Linked DNA regions of Homo sapiens: all the other regions are linked to region 2. Evidence: promoter capture Hi-C in 16 types of primary human blood cells and fetal thymus (Javierre and others, 2016). All regions are on one chromosome and are shown on one strand. The core of a region is centred on a gene start or on the middle of the fragment in contact, and the rest is flanking DNA. Distances in the headings are between cores, read along the strand shown. Region 1 overlaps RBM26 (RNA binding motif protein 26). Region 2 holds the start of SLAIN1 (SLAIN motif family member 1). Region 3 overlaps NDFIP2 (Nedd4 family interacting protein 2). Region 4 has its middle 210 kb from the start of RBM26.

The links. Contacts are between HindIII fragments. The CHiCAGO score rates a contact against its expected background, and 5 or more counts as called.
Region 1: a fragment that was not itself captured here is called in contact with the fragment with the promoter of SLAIN1 in region 2 in 1 of 17 cell types (naive CD4 T cells); the score reaches 5.5 in naive CD4 T cells.
Region 3: a fragment that was not itself captured here is called in contact with the fragment with the promoter of SLAIN1 in region 2 in 1 of 17 cell types (non-activated CD4 T cells); the score reaches 5.6 in non-activated CD4 T cells.
Region 4: a fragment that was not itself captured here is called in contact with the fragment with the promoter of SLAIN1 in region 2 in 1 of 17 cell types (total B cells); the score reaches 5.8 in total B cells.

Annotation. Positions count from the first base shown.
Region 1 is chr13:79,386,258-79,392,966 of GRCh38, reverse strand. All of the region lies in intron 1 of RBM26 (RNA binding motif protein 26), which reads left to right. It also overlaps the pseudogene RNA5SP33. Among named protein-coding and RNA genes, the nearest start is that of RBM26, 17 kb to the left of the region's middle. The HindIII fragment of the contact is 2,656 bases long and covers 3,160-5,815 here.
Region 2 is chr13:77,694,164-77,700,917 of GRCh38, reverse strand. SLAIN1 (SLAIN motif family member 1) reads right to left here and starts at 3,231. Exons shown (of 7, transcript NM_001242868.2): 1 at 2,379-3,231. The coding sequence starts at 3,004. MIR3665 (microRNA 3665) reads left to right here and starts at 2,802; the gene lies at 2,802-2,906. RefSeq lists silencers at 2,164-2,313, 2,474-2,713, 2,914-3,473. The HindIII fragment of the contact is 5,751 bases long and covers 1-5,095 here.
Region 3 is chr13:79,484,567-79,491,635 of GRCh38, reverse strand. All of the region lies in intron 1 of NDFIP2 (Nedd4 family interacting protein 2), which reads right to left. Among named protein-coding and RNA genes, the nearest start is that of NDFIP2-AS1, 6.9 kb to the right of the region's middle. The HindIII fragment of the contact is 1,519 bases long and covers 4,346-5,864 here.
Region 4 is chr13:79,193,029-79,199,800 of GRCh38, reverse strand. No RefSeq gene overlaps it. Among named protein-coding and RNA genes, the nearest start is that of RBM26, 210 kb to the left of the region's middle. RefSeq lists enhancers at 1,259-1,890, 4,764-4,883, 5,144-5,363, 5,474-5,563. The HindIII fragment of the contact is 7,662 bases long and covers 1-6,772 here.

The DNA of each region.
Region 1 (6,709 bases), core at 3,238-5,737, 1.7 Mb before region 2:
CTAAAAGATGATTTAAAGTTTCGCTGGTTTCTCTGTACCTCCATCTATGGAGTCAGATTTTTCTTCCTGACTTTCCACCAGGAATGAGAGTAAACATGAGTTTCTTTGCTCTTCTGAAGAGTTTGTCACTTTCTAGAATATAGTTAGTTCATTTACAGATTTTTTTTTTTTTTGGTCTTCTCAAGCTTGTTGGGTTTTAAAAAATACTACAGTTTTGTAGTTAAAGCGGCTTGTTTCTTGTTGGGGTGAGAGCAGTGGTCTCTTGTGATGTTCCACATCCAGCCCGAGGTGGAATGGCTAACATAGTTTTAATGTGTGTTTGTTTTATAAAAGTTAGGTTGAAAAATTTTTCCTATGTTTATTTATATATATAAATATATATAAATTATATATGGATAACATATTTTACATATTAATTATGTTTATATATAATATATAACATATAATTATATAACTAATATATTAGAATATATGTGATTTATGATGTAACCATTACATATATAGTACATAATACTTACATAATTATTGTATATAATATATAATGCTCCAGAGATTAATTTAATAATTTAAGAAAGTAAGCTTTTTTCCTAAAAAGTAATGGTTACATCATAAATAATATATAATGTAATTATATATAATTACTAATTATATATTACCGTTATACAATTAATTATATATTTTATATATAATTAATATATAATTATATAATAATTATGTATTATTGTATAATATATAATTATATAATAATTATGTATTATTGTATAATATATAATTATATAATAATTATGTATTATTGTATAATATATAATTATATAATAATTATGTATTATTGTATAATATATAATTATATAATTATGTATTGTATAATACATTATTATATAATTATGTATTATTGTATAATACATAATTATATAATAATGTATTGTATAATATATAATTATATAATAATGTATAATATATAATTATATAATAATGTATTGCATAATATATAATTATATAATAATTATGTATTCTTGTATAATATATAATTATATATAGTGTTACGTATTATATATTTTTTCCTGTTGATTGTTCATACACTCCCTAGTTTTTCTGATACATTGTTGGTTTCTTAAAAAGTTGATTTGTAGGAGCTTTTCATGTATTAGGGAAATTGTGATATGATCTGCAACTTTCTCTTTCCCATACTGACATTTATGTTTTGATTCTGCTTATGGTAATTTTTCTAATATAGAAATGCTTCGGCTGGGTGCGGTGGCTCACGCCTGTAATCCCAGCACTTTGGGAGGCTGAGGTGGGTGGATCATTTGAGTTCAAGAGTTCGAGACCAGCCTGGCCAACATGGTGAAACCATGTCTCTACTAAAAATATAAAAATCAGCCTGGTGTTGTGGTGGGCGCCTGTAATCCCAGCTACAGGGGAAGCTGAAGCAGGAGAATTGCTTGAACCCAGGAGGTGGTGGTTGCAGTGACGCTAGATGGCGCCACCGCACTCCAGCCTGAGCTACAGAACAAGACTGTCTCAAAAAAACACACACACAAAAAGAAATGCTTCATTTTATGTAGTTGAATTTATCCTTTATTTCATGGGGTTTGGATTTTCTATTGTAGTCATAGTCAGAAAAACTTTCCCTATTTTGAGATGAAGTTACTGCCAGTGATATTATAGCGAAAGCTATCACTAGTTGTGCTTACTGTATGCCAGCATACTAATTGGGTTACCAGTCAATTAATGAACTCTAATTGACTATATGCGTGCTACAAATCATACTGTGACTTACCACGAGAAGTCAGTGAGGCAAAATGGAAACCAGTCACTGTATTTTCTCAAGTAGTATCATCCATGTCCTTTATGATCTTATTTTTAAAGAAAATCCAGGTATGAAGTATGGATATAGCCTTATTTATGTATTTTTATTCAGATGCACACAAAGTTATCTCTATAAAACTTGACTGCATAATCCATGTTTTCCCAGGGATTTGAGATGCAACCTTAAATAGATACTAAGTTCTTATGTGTATTTGGGTTTATTCTAGACTTTTTATATATTGATCTATATCTTTTACACTATTCTCTTATTTTTGGTGATGAAAGGCTAGTCCTCTGTCAATAATGTTCATTTTTAGAATTTTCCTGCCTGGTTTTCCTTGACTGCCCTTGCCCTACAACTTTATTTTGAAAATTTTGAATATACAGAAAAGTTGAAAGAATTTTACAGTGACATACCCGTCATTGAGATTCTACCATTAACATTTTAGTGTGCTTGTCACTATTATCCTTTGGTTCATTTCAGAGTAAATCGCAGATGTCAGTGCACTTACCCCTAAAGCATGCATACCATGCTTTACTTCAGTACTTTAGTTTTATTTTAATTTTAGAATACAGATACAATCAAGTGCACAGATCTTAAGTGTACCATTTTATAGTTTTTACAAGTGTATACATTTTTGTAACCCAGTCACCTGTTAAGATAACATTACCCTTGCCCTGGAAAATTTACTCATTTCTTTTCCCATGCCCCCACCTACCTCTAGAAGAAAGCAGTGTTCTGCCTTTTTTACACTATATATTAGTATTACCTGTTGTAGAACTTTTCTGTCAGTGGAATCAGAGTATTATTTTGAGCAAGGCTTTAATGTGCCTGAGATTTATCCATATTATTGCATATATCTGTAGTTTGCTTCTTTGTATTGCTGAGTAGTATTCTGTTGTCAGAATCATGGTATATACAGTAGTTAACAATAATAATGCTCTCATTATTGTTAATTTGACACAATTTCTTAAGTCTTACTAATTAAAAATAGTACATGATGGTTCTAATAAAAATTTAAACAGTGTAGAAATAGAAACCAAAAATCAGTCTTCTTATTCCTTTCTGATTCTCATATATAAACTTGTAAACATATATCTGTAAAAATATGCATGTGCCACCTATTGATGAATATACATGACTTTTTTTCATAGATAGAATCATTTATATGTTGCTACTACAACTAGTATTTCCAGTAACACTGCACATCATCCCATAAAAGTATACTGTTAGGTAGATTCCTATTCTTTCCAGTGGTTCCATAGAATTCCATTATGTGAGTGTATTGCACTTTGTTTAAATAGTGCTTTATTTATGATGTAATTATTACTTTTTAGGGGAAAAAAGCTTATTTTCTTGAATTATTTAAGTACTTCCTGTATGTAGTCAAGGAAAACTTACCAAAAGACTTTGACTTGAAAAGCAAAATCCTCTTTACGTTTCCCATCCTTGAACTTTTACTGTTAATATGTAGTTTTTATGCCGTTACAATGGCTGAAATCCAGTGTTTTTGCATGACCAAATCATCTACGGCCATACCACTCTGAACACCCCTGATCTCATCTAACTTGGAAGGCAAGCAGGATTAGGCTTGGTTAGTACATGGATGAGAGACTATAGTTTATGTAACCATTCTGTTCTTATTTGTCATTTAGGTTGTTTGCTTTTTTCTTTGGCTTTCCAAATAACTATTTTTTTTCCCGTTTCTTTTTTTCTTTAACAACGCAACTAGTACACTGTTTTTGACTTTTTAAATAACTCTGCAATGAACATCTTCCTCTATGTGTATGTTTGCTTTATTCTCATTAGTAGAAGTTATTTTCTAGAAGTCAGCTAATGCTGCTGTTGGAGGCTTTCTTAGTATTAAGTATACTTTCTTGGTTTAAATCTAGTACTTCAGAGGAACTTGTTTTATGATGTTATGTATTGCATTATAAGTAGTTCCTCATTTTGTTTTTTGTTTCAAAGAGCCATTTTAAAAGAAGTTACGGGAGATAGTGTGTCAGTGTAAATTCTAGCCTACTTTTGAGTTCTGTATATCTCTGCTCCATACATTCTGCAATTATTTATTTTCCATTTTACAGGCAATTTAAAAGTTGATAAAAAAATTTATAAAATCTTAAATGAAGTCACTTATAAATGAAAAGTGTTTGAATGATTATAGATTCCACATAGCATTAATATATACTTCAGCCGGTCGTTTATTTGTTGCTCCTTGTAATAGTTATAAATGCAATAACAGGTACTTTGAGGCCTGTAACTTGTGATCTTTTTTGGACATATTTTGTAAGAAATTGTCATTGTGACGTTTCTTATTTGTTACTATTACTTTCTTTAATGATCTCAAGTGCTTATCTTACCTTTTTAAAAAGTTTAATTTTTTATAGTAGCAAGCAGACTGAAATAGGTAGAACTTATTTTTGAAAACTGCTTTATAAACTTGCAGTTACCAGTCTCTAAAGTTGTTAATGCACTTACCTAAATTGAATCATGTTAAGTTTGGATGCCTGTGATGACATTAAACAGCCAAATTGGAGGAACAGTTAAGTTCTGTGAGAATACATGAAGTTTGGAGGAATCGTGAGTATACATTGTGATTAGGAAAAGGCTCTTGAATCCACCTAGCCTCTGTGGGTTTCAGATGTAGAGAAAGTTTTATTGCTATACTGAAGTGATTGGACAATTTTGGAGCTATATTATGAGATGTGGGGAAGGTTAAAACAGGAGTTACTTGATCCAGTCTCTTTTTAAGAATGTTGCTTGCTGGGCGAGGTGGCTCACGCCTATAGTCCCAGCACTTTGGGAGGCCCAAGTGGGTGGATCACCTGAGGTCAGAAGTTCGAGACCAGCCTGGCCACCATGGTGAAACCCCATCTCTACTTAAAATACAAAAATTAGCCAGACGTGGTGGTACATGCCTGTAATCCCAGCTACTGGGGAGGCTGAGGCAGGAGAATTGCTTGAACCCGGGAGGCGGAGGTTGCAGTCAGCTGAGATCGCCACTGCATTCCAGTTTATGGCATGTAGAGGTTTGATTAGATAAAACGTTTTGAAGACAAAGGAAGACTAGTTAGCTATTTCTTAGTCTAGTTTAAGAGTGAGTTGTGAAATGCCTGAATTTAGATTGCTATAATGTTGGTAATTAGAAGCTCCTTCTCAATACATTGTGATTTGTTCTAGGGAAAAGGCAGGCATAGTTATCTGTAATACCAATGGGAGAAACAGTCAAACATACCAGTAGTTGCTATGTAACAGTGGTAGAAACAATGTACAGAAATTATATAGGTCTGGCAATTTAGGAGAAATACACAAAATGTTTCTATTAAGTAGAATTTATTTATGCCTTCTAAGGGCTCAAAATTTGGTCATGAGTGCTGAGGAAATGGGATTCTGTGACTCTTTAGAAAGACATAAAGAAAAAAAATTCTCTTGAAGATTCTAATGCTATGTACTAAATTATTTTGAAATTCAGTTAACTAAAAGTTACTGGAATGGGAAGGGAGAAAGAGCGCAAGGTGGTGAAAGCCAAATATTTTTTCACAAAAATGACCCACTTTTTCAGATCGTATGGTTCAGTGCCTTTTTTTTTTTTTTAAATGAGTAAACTAAAGCCTAGAGAAATAAAATGCTAACGCAGGATTATATAACTAGTGAATAAAGCAGAAATAACACCAGACTGGAAATCTGAAAATTGTTTTTTGGAGTACAGTTCAGTGCTTTTCTTCAATACCAGACTGCTTCATGGAAAGGCTAACAATTTGGCTTGGGACAAAGTAGGTTTGAAAGGTAATATAGGACTTAAAATATAGCAACCAGAATTTAACTAAAGTATATTTTTAGGGGTGATTATAGGCATTTTTTTTTATCATAGTTCATTATTTAGTAATCCCTTAACGATTGTTAGGGTGCTTGGCAGGTTAATAAAGTGTGTCTTATTTGTAATTATATTTATTTGTAATTATTTCTAGTTTGGCAAGTCAGCTGTTAGATGAAAAAACTGAAGCTTAGTTTGCTTAGTCTTAAGATTCATGACCGGAAAAGTGTCCATAATAATTTCTCATTTTTAAAGATAAATTTTGGCATGACTGTGGTAACCGTATCAGAAAATTTTGGTAGCAATGTTAGAGAAAGACTTAGAAGTGAATCTCTAACATATATAACCACACAGCATTAGCCAGACCTTTTAAAGAAATATGAGAAAAAGGTTAAAGGCTTAATCGACTCAGCCAAATTTATCCAACAGGATGATAGAACTAGGTTTTTTGTATTTCTAGTTTTAGTGCTATTTCTTTTGGATAATTTTGCCTTTTTGGTTTTAAAAGAAAATGTTCACTAGCCTCTGCTCTCTCATTTTAGTAACCAGAGGGATGGGTTACCTGAGATCTGTTGTTAACTAGACAGAATGTGAGTAATGGAGTGGGGGTGGCCTCTAGAACCAGTCTTTTCTCAGATAACTCAATTCTTCCTCAACTATGAATAGGAATTAAAAAAAAAAAAACCCTAAATATGAAGGTTAGTCATGGGTTACCATATTGCAGATACACCTTTTTTTTTTTTTTTTTTTTAAAGAGAGAGTTCTGTGGCTTGATGTATAACCATAATTATAACCACAACTATCTGGGCTTAATTTGTCATTTGGGCTGCTGCTGTTTGCACTGAACAGTACAAACTTTTACTTTGGTTTTGTTATCTGACTATTGGGTCTTTGACACTTAATGGGCACTTCTTTTTTTTTTTTTATTTAATTTAGAAGTTATGTAACTTCTAAAGCTATGGTTCTCAAGTGTGATATCAGGATTCCTGGAATTTCCTGAGAGCCTTTCATGGTGTCTATGAGGTCCTTGTTTTTCCAACTATGTATCTGTGTCAGGTCAGGTTTTCTTCATGTACTTCAACCAG
Region 2 (6,754 bases), core at 1,982-4,481:
AATAAATTGGGGACAAGGAAGATAATTTTTGTGACCTTATACCTACATCTATGTTTTAGTTTTTTTACAATGAGCATGTAAAACTTGTAGTTTTAAATATTTTTAAAATAAGGTACTATATACCCACTCCAGTTGTTTCTTAATAAACACAGGAAATAAAAATAAGTTGCCATCCTGCAAACATATCAGGGAACCAAATGAACAGCACTCTTATTTCTGAGACCACACTACTGGGACACTATAGTCTGCAGTGATAAAGGAACAGAGTGCTTTGCAAGCATTAACAAGTGGGTTAAACTTTAAAAATTAAACCCTGTTGATATTTTCTTCATCAAAAAGATTTGCAATGCAAACAAAATCTTGATGCATAAAATGTAATAATAAAATTATGTAAATCAGGTAACTTTAAAATTTTTAAGACCATCCCACTAAGATTAATGAACCCTCCTTGTTTTTCCACCTGGAATTCTAATCTCAGGCTTGTTTTCAGGAAGATTCTCTGCCATTTGTCTCTAGAAACATTTGTAAAGCATCAAGGCTTTGATTTATTCACCTGTGTACTTGTTGAATGAAATAGAACCTGCTTCAACTTTGATTTGCTTCAAACCATCTGAAGAGCTAATATACTAATACCACTAAGTGGGTGATTTCTGTTAAAGTTGATTATTTCAATGCTATTTGGACAAAATTAAACTATAAAAAGAAAGCCTAGGTACCAAAATGCTAGTAATAGGATGCTAACTAAATATGACAGAAATCCATTCAAAAGAAGGAAAGTTATTAATAGATTACTAATCTCATATTTACAAACAATATCACAATAAATTTTAAAATGCAAATATTTTAAGCATAAAACTGATCCCATATATCTCCCCATCAAAAATGTAAACAAGTTTCCTTCCACTGTTTACATACATACCATCAGAAAAGGCTAAGTAGGGACTAAATCAACCTAAAATAATTTGAAAGTGGCATAAGGGCTGAGAGTTATTAGTGAAATCTAAGGACCATCATGAGAGCATTTTCTAGTACCACATTCAGACTGAAACTGAGATTACTTTACAGAAATAAGGGTGCAGCTTTGAAAAAATGGCTTAAAGTTCCCAAAAGTGATGAGTTGTTTGATTTTTTTACACCTTGAGCTACCTGCACAGCTGCCAAAAAGTATTAAGGTGGATGATGAATACACCTCTGAAAGGCTTACTGTAACTCCATATATTTTGATTCTTGAATGAAACCAATTAACTAATGTACTTTACAGTTAGAGCTCTCACATGACAGAGTGTAAGGGAAAAGGAACACTGCAGTTCCCAATAGGAAACCAGTAAGGATCTCCATTTCCCAATCCCTTCCATGCAATCATGCAACAGAGACACAAAGAAAGTAATGAAAACACAGCTTGGAAAAACAGAAAGGGTCCTACATAAAAAGGACCTAAAGTAAAGAAGGACTACAGCAAGCCTCCCCCTAAAGTTACTCATTCATGGAAAGTAGACAGTGCTAACCAGATGTCAACTGAATAAATGCTGTCAGCCTCAAGTTTTCTGATAACCAAGCTAAAAAGTTTCCAAGAAATAAGAAAATAAGGCTTCTCTAATCTCACTTTTCTTCTACAGTTTAATTTAAAAAATTAAAGACAGTTCGTTGGTTCCTAGGTAAAAAAATAAATAAATAAATAAAAAAGTCCCTCCCACCTGTTCATTCCACTCCAAGAAAAGTCCTCTTTATTGGCACTATTTATGGGAAAGCCAGTGAGGTCACCCCATTTTAAAAAGCAAGTCAGTCTCTGAAAATAAGATTTCAATGAAAATGCAACGCAAAAGGGCACACGACTGCAAAATTCAAACAGCAAGAACGAACCTCTCTATAAAGAGAGATCCATCACTGCGCGGCTTCCGATGCCACCCGAGGAGGAAGAGCACGCAAATCCTGTCCAGCGTTCGTTTAAAACGAAAGAACAGTAACAGTCGCAGACAGAGGCCAACCCCTACCATCCCCCGTCATCCCTCCGAAAACACTGGGGAAAAGAGCAGCACTGAGCAAAAAGACAAGATGACATGGATTTTGCACTTAATGCTAACGAGGAGCTTGGGACCCAACAATCAGCAAATAGCAGAACCCATGGCAGATGGGGGGAAGGGGGGGCCGGTTCATCCGCAGTCGGAGCGATTAGAAAACAGGTTTCTGCCTTCATGAGAAGCCTCATCGTGGGAAGTGTCACCGCCTGGCTCAACACCTGCTGGGTCGGCCCCTCCGGGAGCCGCGGGGAGTCACCCCGGCTGCCGCGAGGGGACCCCCGTCCGCCCCCCGCCCCCGCTCCCCGGTGCCCGAAGCCCCCGAGGCCAGGGTCTCGGGGAAGGAGCGGAGCCAGGCAGTACCAGGTGTAGTCGTCCTCGTCCCGCCAGGCGGCTACGCTCTCCAGATCCAGCAATTCCACCTCGTCCAGCAGCGTGGGGGGCGGCGAGGGCGGCGCTGCAGCTGCCCCTGGCGGCGTCCCCGCGCCCCCCGGCTCCGGCCCGCCACCGCCCGCGCCGAAGAAGCCTGCTGCCGGCTTGAAGTAGACGAAGGGCGCCTCGGGTGGCTGCGCCAGGCTGCAAAGCAGGGAGGGCGCGGGGCTAGGCAGGCAGAAGGTGCCCGGGAACGCGGGGCTGGAGCCACCGCCGCTGCCACTACCGCTGCCGCCACCGCCCCCCGCGCCCAGCGCCAGCCCGAGCCCCAGGCCCCCTGAGGCCGCGGCGGTGGCCGTGGCGGCCGGGGGGCTCCGAGGACCCAAAGGCTGCAGGCCAGCGGGGGGCGGCGCGGCGGGCGGCGGCGGCGGCAGCAGCAGCAGGTGCGGGGCGGCGGCCGCGCTGGCCGCTCGACTCCGCAGCTGCTCGTTCTGCTTCTCCAGCTTGCGCACCAGCTCCTGCAGCTTCTTCACCTCCAGCTCCGCGTTCACCACCGGCCCGGAGCCCGCTCCAGAGCTGACCCCTGCCGAGGCGCATTTCACCTGCTCCGCCATCATCGTGGGCCCCGAGGGCGCCGCGGCCGCCGGGGAGTGCGCGCCGCCGCGCCGGCTCCTCGGGCCACGGGGAGGCTACGGCTCCTTCCCTGTCGCCCCGGCCTGGGGGGCCGACCACGCGCGGGCTGAGGCCGAGCCGGCGGTTCGCATCAGCACCGGGCCCTCGCCTCCGGCCGCGGCAGCCACCACCGAGCTGATCTGCACATGCTCAGTGCGTCCCTCCAGTCCCCTGGGCGTCGCGGCGGCTCCGGGTTTTAGCCGCGGCCCCGGAGCGGGGCGGGGCAAGAGCGCCGAGGGGGCGGGTGGGGGGGGGGGGGCGGAGAACCGTGGGGAAGCCCACCCAGGGGGCGGGGCCGGCAGCCCGGGTTGGGGCCGGGGAGCCGCACCCACCCTCGCTACCTAATCCCAGGGGCCTGATTGGACCTGGCCTGAACTTTCCCGCCACAAGCACCTCCTCCTGCCGCTTGGTGGGACAGTGAACTGCGCGGGTCTCTGAGGCGGTTGCGGGGACCAGGGGGTTCCCAAAGAAGCAGCTGCAGGTGCTGGCCCTCGAGTAGTGCACCACCGGCCCGCTGGTTTGCTCCCTTCCCAGCTCTCTGTTAGGCTCCGTGACAGCACTTAATAGCCACTGGCTAACGAATCCTATAGAAAACTTAAAGGCTGGGGATCGTTATTCTAAAAACCGAAAAGTGGAGATAGGGGGAACAGAAAGGCTTTGGGACCATGCCACTCATGTTCTCATTGGTAATAGAGAAGCAAAATGGTGGGAGACAGGAGACCGAGAAGAAAGAGAAGAAAGCCCTCTCTCTAAGAGGTAGAGTGGCCAGCTGCTAAGGAGACAAGTGTTTACTTATTTATTCTAAAATAGTCAAATTTGAACTGTTACCATCATTGTTTGTCACAATAAAAGAAGAACTGCTTTTTTTTTCATACTATGTATATTCATGCATTCCCCAAACAAAAGATCTTTGAGCACCTACTCTGTGCCAGGAACCATTCTAAGAGCTCGTGATGCGGGCAATGAGTACAATAGGCAAAAATGGTTATGGGGAGAAATATGAGTAAAATTGTTTAGTGCTCCTTCTATTAAATAATGTGTAAGTTATTAAAGTCAGACTTGCTGGTGGGAAAGCAGAAAACAGAAAACCTCAGAATTCTACCCAATACACTTTAATCTCACCTGCAAACCTGCTATTTCTTACCACTTGGAAAACGAGCAAATCTGCTTTTTTTAAAAGAGGCTTTTAAGCAGAAGAATTTAATCGAGTTGTGTTCAATGAATACTGACTGACTTAGCATTTTGAGTGTTTAACACAATCAGAGGAAAACCTGAGATTATATTATGAGAAAAATCTACACCACTGGTTCTCATCCTCAGATGATATACTATCTAGTGAAAGTCCTTGCTAGGGACTTTACATACCAATCTTTGTGACAATGTACCTCATTTCTCTGGAGCTGCTAACACATCGTATCTATTGGTTTCAGATATGGTTTTGTGTCTTCCTGCTCAGAAACACTTGTATCTTCTCAGTTGTTAATCTACATCTCTAGCTTCTGTGTGCAGGGTGGATGTTCTGCATTTAACATGCTTGGTGAGCGCTTCCATAAATTAGCTAAATGCGTGTGATGACTCCCTTAACCTTCCCTGTGTCCCAGCTTGCTAGCCCACCACCTAACCACCTGTATCACCCATCACCTTTCCAAGTTTCGGTATATCTTTAGGATTTTTTTTGGTTATTACCAAAACCTGGAGAAATGGAGTAATACTACTGAAAGTCCTAAGTAAAGAATCTATTGAAGGATTTTTCCCGCATGCTCAGTGGCAGATGCGGGTAGCAGTATCTCCCTGCAACACAAAGAAAGGGAGACGACAGACACAATGAGAACAAAGAGCTGCTGGGTCCCAGACTAGAGAAAGAAATTGGGAATAGGCACATAATAGTGAAGACAACAAGAATTAAGATGTAAAGAAAAGCCGTCATTTTACTGCACAATTTATATACACTCTAAAGAAGGAGAGAAACAGACAGCCCTTTCCTCCTTCATTTACCCAATATGGTCTATATACATCCAACAAGCAGTAGCCAAGCTTTTGAACCCTGTTTTCTAAGTAATAATTATCATAAAAATCTTTGTTCTTTAAAAAGAAAGCATGCATTGAAATTTAGACATAGAAAAGAGATGAAACATTGTTTTACAATTCTAGTCTGCATTATTCTTCTGAAAAGACAAATTTGCCCTTTTCCTACCTATTTTAAAAGTGTGAAATTATTAATGTCTAAAGAAAATTTAAATCATGTTTTTGCTTTCTCTTAATGCCCCTCTTTTTTTCCCTTCTGTGAATTGCACATGTACACACACCAGAGACACTCAAAATGCACACTGATTTCAAGTTGGTGTCCCCAGGATGCCAGTCTCTTTAACGTATAATTAAAGAGGTTGATGGTGTCAAGGTTTTAATTAAGCAGTCTTGATTTTTTTATTTTGATGCAAATTAGTAAGCTTTGTGTTTTGAAAGAAATTGCATGCTGTAGTTGCTCAATTGTAATGTTTTGATTTTAAATAAAATATGTAGGTGATTTCAGAGGTTTACAAAGAGGATATGAAAAATGAAAGTGCATGTCTCATTTAAAAGTTTATGCTTTAAGCATACATTTGATACACCATAAGGTAATGTGAAACATCCACATATCACACATTCAAAACTGGATAAAGAAATGCATGTTTCTCTCTATTCATTACACTTCAGAACTATCATCACTCTAGTGAATTTTAAGAAAGCACATGAACTTATTTTAATTTGTATTTTTCACATATATTTCTAATACTGTGTATGAACATTAAATAGATCCAGCAACAGAATCGCAAAAGCACCCATAGGTTCTTGAGTATATAAAAATAATTCTCAAAGGAAATCTAGAAACAGCCTGTTATTATCCCAGTTTTACAGATGAGCTTACAAGGTTATGTTACTTGCCCAAGTTCACTCATGAAAATGATGGTTCTTAGCAGTTGCTAGTGGGCCAGAGTAAAATTTCTCCTAGAGTAAGATTCATACGTTTAAATTTTGCGATCAGTGCAGCTGACATACCCTAATATGAGCACTACATTAATTCAAGTTTATAGATCCAATTACTGCAAGAAAAGAAAATAACCTAATGTGTTAAACTAAGATCAAAGATCCCCAACTGTGTTTTCAAGTTGATTTGAACCACAATGTTTGAGTGATTCTTATGCCTCTTCATGGAGATTCCTGTTTATACATACAGAATAGACTCGAACACTGCAGGTCCCACTGCCCATATGCAGTGCCTAGCACAGTGTCTAGCACATGGCAAATAAATACTCAAAAAATTTTAAAAGATAAATGAATCAATAAATAAATCCCCAAGTTCTAGCTGGAATTTAGACAAACACATAATTAGCTATTTCCATAAACCTCATTTATCATATGGTAACAACATAGGAAGACTAGAGGCTTTCTGCAGATCCCATAATAATCAATTATTTTACATCTGACCCAGTTAATAGCCAGGAAAATACTTGCTGCACCTAATGTGTTGCATTTTAATGTAAGGAGATTATGGAAAGAGAAAACAGAAATACAAGAAGTCAGAATTTATTCAAAAAAAATCCCTGTGTGAGTTGCTCCATTCTAACCCCACCCAACTCTACTACTCATATTCATGCCCAAAACCCACATAATTATACCCTATAAGGTCACATGTGGTGGTAGTTATAATAACAATA
Region 3 (7,069 bases), core at 3,856-6,355, 1.8 Mb before region 2:
CATACAATTGAGCAATGTTTTAGAATGAAGGTCAGATATTAAGAAAATAGTAAGAAGAAAATAGTTGCCAAGTAATCAATATAAAAAAGATAAGGAAAATCAAACCAGTATTCACAACTCCGCAGTTTATGAAGGTGATAAGCAGGGCCACTGCATATGGCTTCATGGGCTACTTATTGAACAACTCTAAAGGACACCATTCAGAGAGAGAGACAGAGGAAGACTAAGCAATATATTTCAAGCTGGAAGAGAATGCAAAGAAACAACCACCACCATCACCCCCACCTTAAAGAGCCCAGGTCTCAGTAGCAGAAACAGAATAAATATAAAAAGGAATAAAATAACATAGGCAAGGTTTTATGTCTATAAAATTGGCCTTGAACTAGCACCATTCATTCATCTTTATCAAATACTGAAAGTCTACCATATGGCAGGTATGGAAAGATATATACAGTAGTGAGCAAAACAGACAAAAATCTCTCTACCACCATGAGGCTTAAATTCAGGGAGAAAGAAGGGAGGTAGGAAATAAATAAGCAAAATATTTGGAATACCAGAAGATGATAAGTACTCTGGATAAAAACAAACAGGAAACAGCGATAAGGAGTACTGTGAATGGGATATAGTGATTTAAAATAAGGTAGTCAAGAATGACCTCAATGAGGCAATCACACTAACAGAATGAAGATTCTACCATATTTGAATAAGCTGTTTTTGACACTCTCACAGGGAGTATTATATTCTCTTCTACTATCCACTCATATCCATCCCAATTCTAGGACAGACTAGGTGCTTGGCTGATTATCAGGTGCAAGTAAGGGATGCAAAACAACCTCACCACATTGTTAGGAATTTATTTAGAGACTGGGTGAAATAAAAAATTAATTTCTTAGAAGCGTCCTTCAACATGCCAAGCTTCAGGCCTATATGAGGTACATTCCTATAACATCTACATTGGGGTGGGCAAACTAGAGCAAGCAGGCCAAATCCAGCACACTGTTTTTGCAAATAGTCTTCTGGAACACAGCCCATTTGTTCATTTTCATATTTGGTATGGATACTGCTGCACTACAATGGCAGATCTGAGTAGCTGTGACAGAGACCACATGGCCTATAAAGCCTAAAATACTATCTAGCCCTTTACAGAAAGGGTTTACTAATCTACTAACCCCTGGTCTACATCACCACCACCACCACCCCAAGTAACATAGGCTTCAGGGTCATCTTCACGAGCATGTGATCACTCTAGTCACATGAGACCACCACTCAGGAGGAATCCATGATTGGGGTTTAATACCCTGTGATCACTGTCTTAAAATTCTTAATAATTTTATCTCTAAATATCAGTTTTATAAGTAAACTCCAATAGGACTCCAATGGAGCATGTGCCAGGGGCCTGACACCTCAGCTCACCAGTGGTCTGCCTCTCCAGGAAGTGTTCTCACTCAGTTGAACCCTGTGGCTCAGTCTGACCTCCTAATCCTCACCCTACAACTAGGGAAAGGCAAGGTGACAGCCATCCCCATCCTAGGCTAGAATCACCCTGGCACATTCAGAGGGTGGCCTCTTGCCTATCACTGATGTAGGTAATGAGCATGTCCTGACATGGAGACTACATATTTGCTTGGGGGTCCACAGACCTATACAAAAACAAGGTCTACAGAAAGGGGAGATTGACTTCCTCATCACAGGCCAGGGCCCCACATTTTCATTCGGCATTAGACCTTGCAAATCATGTAGGTGGACCTAACTGCTTTCATGAAACAATTATAAACTAGAGTTATAAATGACAGTTCCATTCTTCTATGAAATCCAGCATAAAATTTGTTTCTGTTTTGTCCCATTCCACTCTAGGCCATCCCCTTAACTTTGCTGCAGCCATACAGCTTTCCTCCTATATCTTCAATCAACAAACTCATTTCCACTACAGGTTATTAACACATTTACAATACTCATCAACTAGAACTAGATCTTCACATTTCAATCAAGTCTGCGTGACTGTCACAACTTAAGAGTGGATGGAGTTACCTGACTAAGCTGATCCCTATCTACTAAGGGGTCAAATTGACTGGTGTGGCACATCATCTCCAAAGATGGCCACTATCACATTCTCCCCTCCATGTATGTGCAAGTTTCTCCCCCACTGACAGATGGAATTCATTTCTTCTCCCTTTGAATTTGGGGGGTCTTACAACTGCTCTGACCAATAGGATACTGCAAAAATGACATTATGAATTTCCAAGCCCAGGCCTTAAGAATGGCAGCTTCCTCTTCCTTCTATGCTGTGGGAAGCCAAGGTCACATCAAGAGGGCACACAAAGGAGAACTGAGATGCTGAAGTCAATAGTTCCAGCTGAGCTTCCAGAAAATAGACAACATCAACTGCAGCCAAGTGAGTGAGCCATCTTGGAAATTCCAACCCAACCAAGCCCCAAAATGGCTCCAGTCCTAGCTAACACTATGTGGAGTAGAATCAACAATCTCCTGATCACACTCAACCCATGGAATCTTAAAAGAAAATAAATACTTGTATTTAGAGATGTTTGTTACACAGCAATATAAAACTAAAACACCCAAGTCTGAATACCAGCTCCATCACAGCTGGGCCTATTATTTAACTTGTTTGTGTCTCATGTTTCTCACCTGCAAATTGAGGATAATGACATTATCTACTTCATAGAAGTGGAAGGATTAAGCGTGCTAATATGTACAAAGCATTTAGCAGCATTTTATTAATACAATGTAAGTACTGTTCTATTATTGCTATTTCATAATTGATAGAATTTATTATTTATTCCATCAACTTGCTTTATTTTCTTCAAAGAATTTATTACTATCTGACATTAGGCTTACTTATCTATCTGCACTTCTCCACCAAAGCATGAGCCATGAGACAAAAACTTAACTGTCTTATTAACCAACACCTAAAACAGAAGCAGACAGAAGTACTATAATATATAGCTATTATATATCAGATGAATGAGTTATAGGATATTTGTTTCATAATCAATAATGATATCTAAAAACTGCTCCCTTACCTTTAGCATAAATCTGACAAAGGGCACTCAAAAACATAAGCTATAAATTATAATATGGTATTTTCATGATACAATTCCAATACATTTATTTGCCACTACACATATAGTACTCCAGTATTAGATCATGTACTGCTCAAATGTGCCTAAGCAAAGGCTACCATTTGATTCAGCACTGTTCAGGTGTGTACTCATTTGTATAATTTTTTTTTAATGAGCTAAACTCAACCAAATAACGTATTTACAGTTAATATCAAGACATGCACAAAAATAGCAAGAGAAATTTTAATCTGGGGTATGTTTAAAAGCAATTTACCCTGGCAACCCAAATTGACATAATACTGGTCTTCAAGTTATAAGCAACAACTTGGTATATAACACATTTGAGTATTGGTATACAACTTGGTGTACTACTTAGTATACAACATATTTGAGTGTACATTTCCTCAATTAGTTTTTTCAACATACAAAGATCTATTTTAAAGATGAAATAAAAATCAGACATTGACAGAACCCTAACACACCTTTGAGAAAAAGCAGTAGTCTAGAAGGTTAGAAAGACACACAAACACATAATTCAGTATAACAAGTTATCCTAACTTTCTTCTGCCTTGATGCTGATGACAGAGGTCAGAAACTCTCTCTACCTCCTTCTTTCAATTATAGATTCGAAGGAGTTTTTACATTTAAGAACAGGATTTTATGAGGCAAACAAACTAGAGAGAGTACAGAACTTCAGATGAGAAATCAGTGCATAAAAATTAAGAAGACAGAGATATGTCACTGTACAGGTAGGGAGGGCCCATTCAAAAAAACTTGTATGCTAAGAACAGGAATTTTAAACTTCAAAAATTTAATAAACCCAGAATGGTTAAAATTAAAAAGATTGACAGCAGCAGAATGTTTGCAAGTGTGTGGAGCAACCAAAACTTCATACATTGATGGTGGAAGTGTAAAATGGCATAATGACTTTGGAAAAAAGTCTGGTGGTTTCTTATAAAATTGAAACATACACCTACCCTATTACTCAGTAATTCCACCCATGGAAAATAAAAACATATGTCCACAAAAAGATTTGTACAAGAATATTCATTCCTATCAGCTTTACAGAAAGATTTGTACAAGAATATAACAGCTTTACTCATAACAGCAAAAGAAAACTAAAAACCCAAATATCAACAGCAATGGATAAACTGCAGTGTATTCATTCGATTTATACGATGAAAACTATATGATAAAAAGGGATGAGCTACTGATATACACAAAAACATGGATCAATCTAAAAAACTTCATGCTGAATGAAAGAAGCTTTGTAGACTACATGCTGTATGATTCTAGAATAGGCAAAACTAGGTAATTTGAAGTGAAAAAATCAGAACAGTCACCTGGGGGGTATGAATTGATCTAGTAAGGATAATAAGGGAACTTTCTAGGGTGATGGTAATATTCTGTATCAGGTCATTAAATTTATCTGTAAAGGGCAGTGGTACAAACTGAATGTTTGTGTCTCTCCAAAATGTATATGTTGAAACCCTAATCGCCAGAGTGATGTTATTTGAAGTTAGAGCCTATAGGAGGTAATTAGGTTTAGATGACGTCATGAGGGTGGGGTCCCTATGATGGATGAGTGTCTGTGCTAACATCAGAGAGCGTACTTACACAAATCTAGATGGTATATATAGCCTACTACATACTATGCCGTATGGTCTAGCCTATTGCTCCTAGACTACAAACCTGTACAGCACGTTATTGTATTGAATACTGCAGGCAACTGTAAAACAACAGTATTTATCTAAACACATCTTACAGGACCCCAGTATATAAGGTCCCTCATTGAATGAAAAGACATTATGCAGTACATGAATGTCCTCAACCCTACCACCGTAAATGAATGGGCATGGCTGTGTGCCAATAAAATTTATTTACAAAACCAGGAGTTGGACCACAGTTTGCTGATCTCTGCTCTACATGTCAAAGGTGGTTTGGGTTACATGAGTATCTGAATTTGCCAAAGTTCATCCACTAGGCCATGTAAGATTTGTGCATTTTAATATACATTGATTTTACCTCAAAGAAAAAGAACCATAAACAAATATTAAAATGTAGGCTAATGATAAACATGTGGCTTGCATGCAAGTACACTGATCCCTGCAACTTACTTTGAAAGGATCGAAAAATAGATGGATTGATAAATACACAACAATACAAATAGAATAAACTGTTAACTGTAGAGCCCACAATTTGTATGGAGGTTAACTGTACAATTCTTTCAACTTTTTTAAAAATTTGGAAGTTTTAATATTAAATGTTATTAAATGTTGGGGGCAGATTCAGTAAGGGGCCACTGAAGGTTTTTGAGCAAAAGAACAAAAAATTTATACAGGTTGAGTATCCCTTATTTAAAATGCTTGGGACCAGAAGTGTTTTGGATTTCAGATTTTTTTTGGATTTTGGAATATTGCATATACGTAATGAAATATCTTGGGAATGGGACCCAAAGATGAACGTGACTATATGTGCATGAAACAAAGTTGTGTTGAATACGTACATGTGGTATTTTCCACTTGTGATATCATGTGGTGTTCAAAAAGTTTCAGATTTGGGGGCATTTTAGATTTCGGGTTTTTGGATTAGGAATACTCAACCTATATTCTACAAATATGATTCACACGATGCAAACAATTCCTGAAGGATGGTCAAATGAGGAAGAAAGTAACAGACAATATTCCATGCCAGGTAATGCATCAATATTTAAGGAGAATGGATTAAGTACAAAAAGAGTTCACTAAGACAAGAAAAGTCAGAAAAAGTCAAGAGAAGTAGAAAGCTTCTTATTAACTGTATCAGGAATAAGGACGGAGTTTCAAAGAACATTCATACTGTCAGTATAACAGAGAAATCAAGCAACATGAGAACTGAAAAGTAGCTATCAGACTATGCAGTTGGGTAACCTTGATTATGTAAAAGAGGTGTGGTAAGAATATAAGCCAGATAAAGTATACTGATAAATTCAAAAGAAACAAACAAGAGACGATCAAAGGAATAAGGCTGGCAAGAAAAGGTGACAACTAGAGAGTAAGGAAAGGTAAGAGCCTGCAACACTTCTTTCCAGTGGAAAATGAAATGAGTATAACTAAAACTCATTATACATTATCTCATCCAGAACATGTACTATTCAGTAAGGCAGTCAGCCATGGGCCTGAATGTCCCTGCACATTCTTGCTGAGTGTGTGTAAAGCTTTCCATTTCCTCATACTGAGCTGTTTCTTCTAATAAGTTACACAGGGAACAAAGATCAGGCAACCACAGTGTGTAACTGCCATCCCAGGAGAAGGTGAACTAGTTTGTTTGTTGTTTGCTAAGATATTTGCTGCTTGCTTTAAAAAAAAAAGAGCTGCACCCTTGGTTCTGAGTTTCTGAGTTCCTCAGCTGTGATGCAAACCCACTGCACGAATCCATATGGACACCCAGCCCCTCTGTGGAATTTGGTAGCTAGGAAAACCTACACAAATATGCTGATGTTCGTGCTGCTTGCTATGTCATGAGTAATGATCAGTCTTTAACCTGGAGGTCACCTCTTTTTTGCCAGAAACCGTGAAACATTAACACACTAACTTATTAGCTTGTAAAAAGGGTACTTATTTATCATGTACCAGTCTTTACATGTTTTACACATGTATTATATTATTTCTCACAATAATCTTTGTCAGGTAGATACTAATATAAGGAAACTGAGGCTTCAAGATGTAAAGTAACTAAGCAAGGTCTCACAAATTGCAAACAGCACAATCTAATATATAAGCCCAGATGGCTTTAAAACCTGTAGGTTTTTTACCCGTTAATAGTCAGGCCTCCTTCAAGCCTCCTTCTCAGCTAATTTATCGAGGGCAACTCTAATTCCCCAGATACAAGAGCAAAGTACTCAGATCTTTGTAGAATGAATACTTCAAATTATGTTCCATAGAAAATTGATATTGTAGAAATGTTAACATAATCTTAAAATTTTAAAAACAAAGAACAAAACAAAACAAAGA
Region 4 (6,772 bases), core at 2,551-5,050, 1.5 Mb before region 2:
AAATCCCAATTATTATTATAATCCATTCCTTTGGGGATAGAAATAAATTTGGTAAATTAAATTACTAATAACTTTATTAATGATTTGTGGATTAATATATCATACATGCTCATCATAATAGCTTAATTTTTATCCACTTGATATCAAAAGTAAGTTAATTATTCTGGTACTCAGTTTTGAACTCATGTGCTTCCTAATTTTGATTATAGAACTAAAATCAATGATGTGAATAGAAAACATGGAAAACACTTACATTGTTTGCCCATATGCATGATGTTTTATATTCCTTATTTCCCACTTTTTAATTTCTTTCAGATGGTTTCTATGTAAACTGAGACATTACATTTTCTATTTATCCCTTTCCTCTTTTTTTCTTGTCCAAAATAGATGCATTTGGTCTGTTACACTTAGTTCAAGAGTAATTATTTTTCAGTTCAAGGTGACAATTTAATCTATTTTATTATAAATGAATCAAATTTTCCAGGCAGTATATTTATTTGGGGACTTACTATGCTCCATCGACTGCCAGTATAAGATTCAATAGTTAATTTATTCCTTTTGAGGAATTGCATGTCCACAGCCTCTGGGGTTTGCACTGAAACACTCCTTTAGGAAGGGGTAACACGGGGCAACTTTTAAAGATAAGACAGATTTGCAGAGCCGGAATTTCATTGTAACATCAATTAGATTGAATTGTATTATATAAGCAAAGGTTATTTGCAGAGCTCCCAGTGACAAGAACAGCATTATTCTGAAATTCTCTGTTGGTTTGTGCAGCAGACTTCCCATGGGAATTCGGGGCTCATGTTCCTATTCCCTTCAGGGAATGCGCAAGGGTATGAGACTGGATTTAGTGTAGGACTACCTGAATGAGAGGTAGACATTTTCTTGAAAAGGATGGTAAAATCTGGAATACTTTCAAAAAAACTGATGGAAAGGTAATTTTCCCTGTTAAAGACTCCTAAACAGACAAACAAATGAAGTTGCAAGAGACTATGAGTTTACCATCCAAACAGAATGCTTCAAAACATCCCCTAAAATGTATATAACTGCTTAGCCATGGAAATTCTTATTGCATAGTTTTTTTCTCTGTATCTGTCATTGGCAGAGTAAGGATGTATTGGATGGAATAAATGTAATTGAATGTATTTCCAAGGCCCATCAGACTTTCAAGCATGTATAGCCATTACTTAAATGCATTCTAATAATCTAAAAGTAATAAAGGTCACAGACTCCACTCATATGAACAAACATCACCTTTCTTTGCTCCACATGGATCTGTGTCTCCCTTTGCTGGCACAGGACTCTTTCCACTAAATGGCCTAATTGTAGCTCAGGTATCTCCAGTATTTCTTGGGCACATAGAGAAAAGAACTCATTAATTGTACTAACTAGTGTATTAATTAGGGCTAATTACAGTGGCCTTTTCTAGCTTGCCTACTATTGCAAATAGAAATTCAGTATGGGGACCTCAAATGTAAACTTAGGGTTCAATGACCCTGAATTAAATACAAAGTCATGTTAATTTCACCAATATAAAATGTAAATTCAGTGTATACCAAACTGTACCCTGTCATGAAGGCTTCACAAAGCAGAGAAAGGAGACAATGGATCCTGTTTTGTTTCTCATTTGGCCCTTGCTGGGTTTACTTTCATCCTGCTGATCCTGTAGGCAGCTGTGGGAGAGAGAAGGGCTTAGGACCTGGAGGAGGATACCTGGGTTTGAGCCCAGCTCTGAAATTCGTTATTCACGTGACCTTGGGAATATCACTCAAACTTTCTGAGTCTCAGTTTCTTGACCTGTAACCTGGAGACTCAATCATTTTCACCATTGGAAGGCTGGGAAGATTAGATATGTACAAGTTTTCATAAACTAAAATGTGTACTAGCCATATAAGGAATTTTAATACTTATTACATAATGACATTAATTTATATCTTATAAGATATTCTGATAAAATTTGGGAGAGCAACCCACCAGATTTATTTCTTTCAAAGGTGTCCTGGATGCCTATGGTGGTAAATAAGTAATGATGATAATAAATAAATCCAGGAATTAAGTATTTATGTATAATACTTTACAACTTCATTTGGTGAAGCATTTTTCATGCCAACTGTATCCCCAAACAGATTACATTCAATGAAGACTTACAGTGATAAGCAATAAATACTAGCAGTGAGAGACAGACATTGAGATAAACAGGCAGCAAAAAGTGCTTTTCAGCTAAATTCTGAAAAGAAATGAAGAATTTAGGGTTGCAGAGACCCAGGAGAGATGTCACAACAGGCAGACACTTTTGGAGATAAAGTTCTCACACTCAATTTTCTTAGTGAAAGGCCTGAGGCACGAAGTACCAAAGTGTTGAACTTCTGCCTGGGTCATCTCACAGGCGGCGGGTCTTTACTGTGGGAAGAAAGAAACAATATTAAGTCTGAGAGAGGTGAATTTCAACTTCATGGGGATTATGAAGCAGGAAAATCTTTTGTAAATGGCTTTGCTTTGATCTATATGGACCAGAAGAGAACTACGTATTGGTATTTTATTGTCCATAAGCTACCCAAAAAGTGTACCTGCAGTGTTCATCACTAAAAATCAGCTGGAAATTTGATTTGCAGTCTAGAGTAAGGATTTTCAAGTTAGTTCAGGATACACTGATTTCTGATTCTTCCATGGGTTTGCCTTTGGCTCAGTCAGTTTTGACGCAATAGATGGGAGTGATTTCCTTAAATGTTAATTTGACTTTTTAGTAGCCATGTGCATAACAGAAGCACTCTGAGTAACACTATGTGTTGTGTGTGTGTTTGTATTAGTCAGTTCTCATGCTGCTAATAGAGACATATCCGAGACTAGGCAATTTATAAAGGAAAGAGGTTTAATTGACTCACAGTTCCACATGGCTGGGGAGGCCTCACAATCATGACAGAAGGCAAATGAGGAGCAATGCCACGTCTTACATGGTGGCAAGCAATAGAGCTTGTGCAGGGAATTTTCCTTTATAAAGCCATCAGATCTTGTGAGACTTATTCACTGTCATGAAAGCAGCATGAGGGTAACCACCCCCATGATTCAATTACCTCCCACAAGGTCCCTCCCATGGCACAAGGGGATTATGGGAACTACAATTCAAGATGAGATTTGCGTGGGGACACAGCCAATCCATATCAGTGTTTGAAAGACAAAGTGGTGGCATACACAGCAGCCTCTCGAGGAGGGTACTAAAATGAGTTTCTATTTCTATATCACACTGACTGAGATTGGGGAAGATAAGAGTAGGGTAAGGTGAGCAAGCTCAAAGACTGAGGAAATGTTGCTTGGTATGAGAAATTTTACTCAGATAACCTCAGGAGTGTATAAAGAAGAGTTATTGTATTCTACTCACAAAGTGTTTTTGTTGATGATGGCCTGATTGGAAGATGAATTACCACCCGCCAATGAAAGGCAACCTTACAAAACCATTTGAAACCCAACTATCTCATGTTATATTGGGTTGTGGATAGTACAGTTCAACTCCAACAGGATACCTTTGGCTATGTGGGTGCATGTTGACAGCTTTAAGGAGGGCCACTAAAGTGTCTTTCATAGTGCTAAAAGCACCTCAAAATGAGTAATTTATTTTGGAAAAGCATATTAGGAGAGAAAAAATGTTTCATCTAGAAGCACTGATATGAGGAAGAGACTAAATAAATGAATGAAGAAGTTAGTGCAGAGTAGAGACAAGCATGAATTGGTTTCACAGCTGCTTCTGATATGGCCAATAAAAAAGATAAAGAAGAAAAAGAATCAAGCAGCCAGGGAAAGGTCAGCTCCTTAAGGGCAGGCCTCCTGCCTAGCAGTACACAGTTATCCCCAGTGCCTAGAATATGGTAGGCACATGGTAATCTCACATTTTGCAGTAAAAATAAATACATATGTACAGGAGCTAAAAGTATATATTAAGAAGGAAGTTGCTTGACATTAGATAGAGTCTTGATTATTTTAGCTCCATGATAGGGGTTGTCTTTGACAAAATTTCCTCTTTTTTACAGTTGTCATCTAGGTAGCTATCTCTATTGGTGGTGTTCTTTAATAGGTGTGGGAGAGAAGCCTCAAGGGACAGAGTGATCTGAAGTTGTTACATTAAATAGGTTTCCCAGGCAAAGCAAGAAATGGCCTGGAGTCTGCTCCTGGTTACAACTTTAATCATTACATACAAGCTGGCTGTGAAAATCCATCTGAATGATGAACAAAATACTTTAATCTGGACTTCATCATGTTACTTTTGCTACTTTGGAGTTCTGAATTCATCATAAGAATGTGAAAGATTTACCTGCAATGGCAGTTCCCTCGAATTCCAGTAAATCCATGAAAGAATGTGTTGCTTCATGGAATGGATGAGAGAGGGAAAACATTCTCTCAGGGAATCAGAAATAGGAGAGATTTGGGTGGCTGGGGGTGGAAGGGCAGTTCAGGTTCCAGAAAACAGAGCTATTGGAATTTGGATGAGGGTTTTAAAACATGATAAGGCCTATCAGGAGTCATAGGTTGATAGCAATCAATGAGTAAAATGACTCCTTGTGTTTGGAAAAGAAAATCAAGCAGACTTGTGGAAGTCTGTGGTCTTGGATGCAAAAGGAAGCTAAAGCTACAATAGTCATTAAGTCAATGGAAGTGAGAAGGAACTTTTAGAAAATTTGATTAAGACAGATAAGGGACTGGATTCCAGGAATTAGGTTAAGAGAATGACAGTACCCCTCAGAATATAAGGTTTGTCTAATTATTCTGATATAAGGATTATTAGTTATAAAGACTATTCTCATCATGTAGGTGGAGGACCTGGTGCCCCAATACTACAGGCACAACAGCGTGGAGATGGTTCCTCTCTGCAGAGCCCTGCATTCAGCCGCATGCCTAGGACAGTGGAAAGTGCAGGGATGTTCTTTTGCCTGTTTACCTGTGACAAGATCATCAAGTTTCTCAGCTCAGAGGGGACACTTAGAGTGGGGGAATGGGTAAGACTTTTCTGCTATAAGTGAGGAAAAGGAAGAAATGAGGAAAATGACAGAACAATCTATTCCAGGGTCAACTCTAGTATATATTATAGGAGAATTGTATTTCTTGCAAATAAAAGCAGAGACCTTCTGATGTTTGTCTTTTACTTTAAGATAAGAGAAACTCAATTGACTCTTCCTACTCTAGATCTTAAATACACACAAGGAAGGTGTCCTGAGCGAGGCACTCATGAGAAGTTAGCTAAAGTCATTTTCAGATTTAATGATTGCAGGTGTCATAATGAGTGTGACATCTCTCTAGTTCTTTAAATAGCACTGCGGATGTTCTGTGGTTAGACTGGCTGCCCCAAATTACCCAGAAGTGAAACTGCTTTTTTGGTGATGCCTATGTCTGATCCATAACCTCCATCTTTTCTGTATCTTTTTTTTTCTCTTAAGATAACACAGCACATTTGAGGATGCTTAAAGTATTTGAGTGGTGCTACTGGCTATAATTAAGTTCTTTCAGCCTTTCCATTACAAATTCTTCTTTCCGAGGTTTAATATCTCAGAGACTTCTAATCCCACTGGGCCAAACTTAGTATAGAAGCTGTCAGCAGAAATGCAAATTTTTTTGCCCACCCCTAAATATTTCTAATCAAACAATTTTTTTCCCCTCATTACAGCAAAGGTATAAGGAAATAGGTTTCAGGCACTTTTGAAAAGCAAGAAAAAAAGTAATCTAAGCACAAAATCTGAGAAAAATGCATAAGAATGCAAAACCTGTCTAGTTTCGGGGTAGGTGGGCAAATATTGAAGACATACAGCATCAGAGAATTTTTGCCTTGTGTTTTTTAGCTAAATTCAAGATGTAACCATGAAATAAACTGACAGCATATTGTTTGTTGGTTTGAAATTTTGATTTTTTGTTTTAAGGAGAAGTCCGTGTTACTTCTGTGAAAATTTAAGATGAGCAAATAATTCCAATATACCCACATAACTTGGGCTATGGTTGAAATTTTTTTTTTATCTTTTCCTTTGTGTCTTGAAGATAATTGAATGAAAATCATTTGTAGCATTATTGGTTTATTTAAAAAGGTTTAAAAATTAAACATTTTATTTTTATTTTTTGTTGTGGTAAATAATGCATAACATGAAATTTAGCACCTTAGTCATTTCTAAGTGTACAGTTTAGTACTGTTAACTATATTCATGTTGTTGTATAGCCAATCTCCAGAACTTTTCATCTTGCAAAACTGGCACTCTGTACTTATTCTGTTTCGATGAAGTTGAGTACACATAGAAACCTCATATAAGTGAAGTCGAGCAGTATTTGTCTTTTCATGATGGGCTAATTTCAATTGGCAGGATGTCCTCAAGGTTCATTTGTGTTGTAGCATGTGTCAGAACTTCCTTCCTTTTCAAGGCTGAATATTATTAACATTTGACTTTTTGGATGCTTATTCCATATTGCCTTTTTTTATTATTAATCAAAAGATTCTATTTCTTAAGTAGAAGTTCTTGTTATGTCCTCAAATTATTTCATAATTATTAAAATCCTTCTTTTGGGGTTTTAACTTATTAGTTTAAGGGTACAGGTCTTTGAACTTGGCTTTACTGCTTAAGAGAATGAACATCTTTTTGCAGCCAGTTTTCTAGATAGTGAAAGATGGACCTTCTAAGGTCCTTGGCAGTGGTTGTTTGCCCCTAGGTCAGAGCAGTCCTAATCGTGTCTTGTCCTTGTCCCTGTTAGCACTGCTATTGCACAGCCATTCCCCATGCTGTCTCTTTGGGGGAATTTTGCT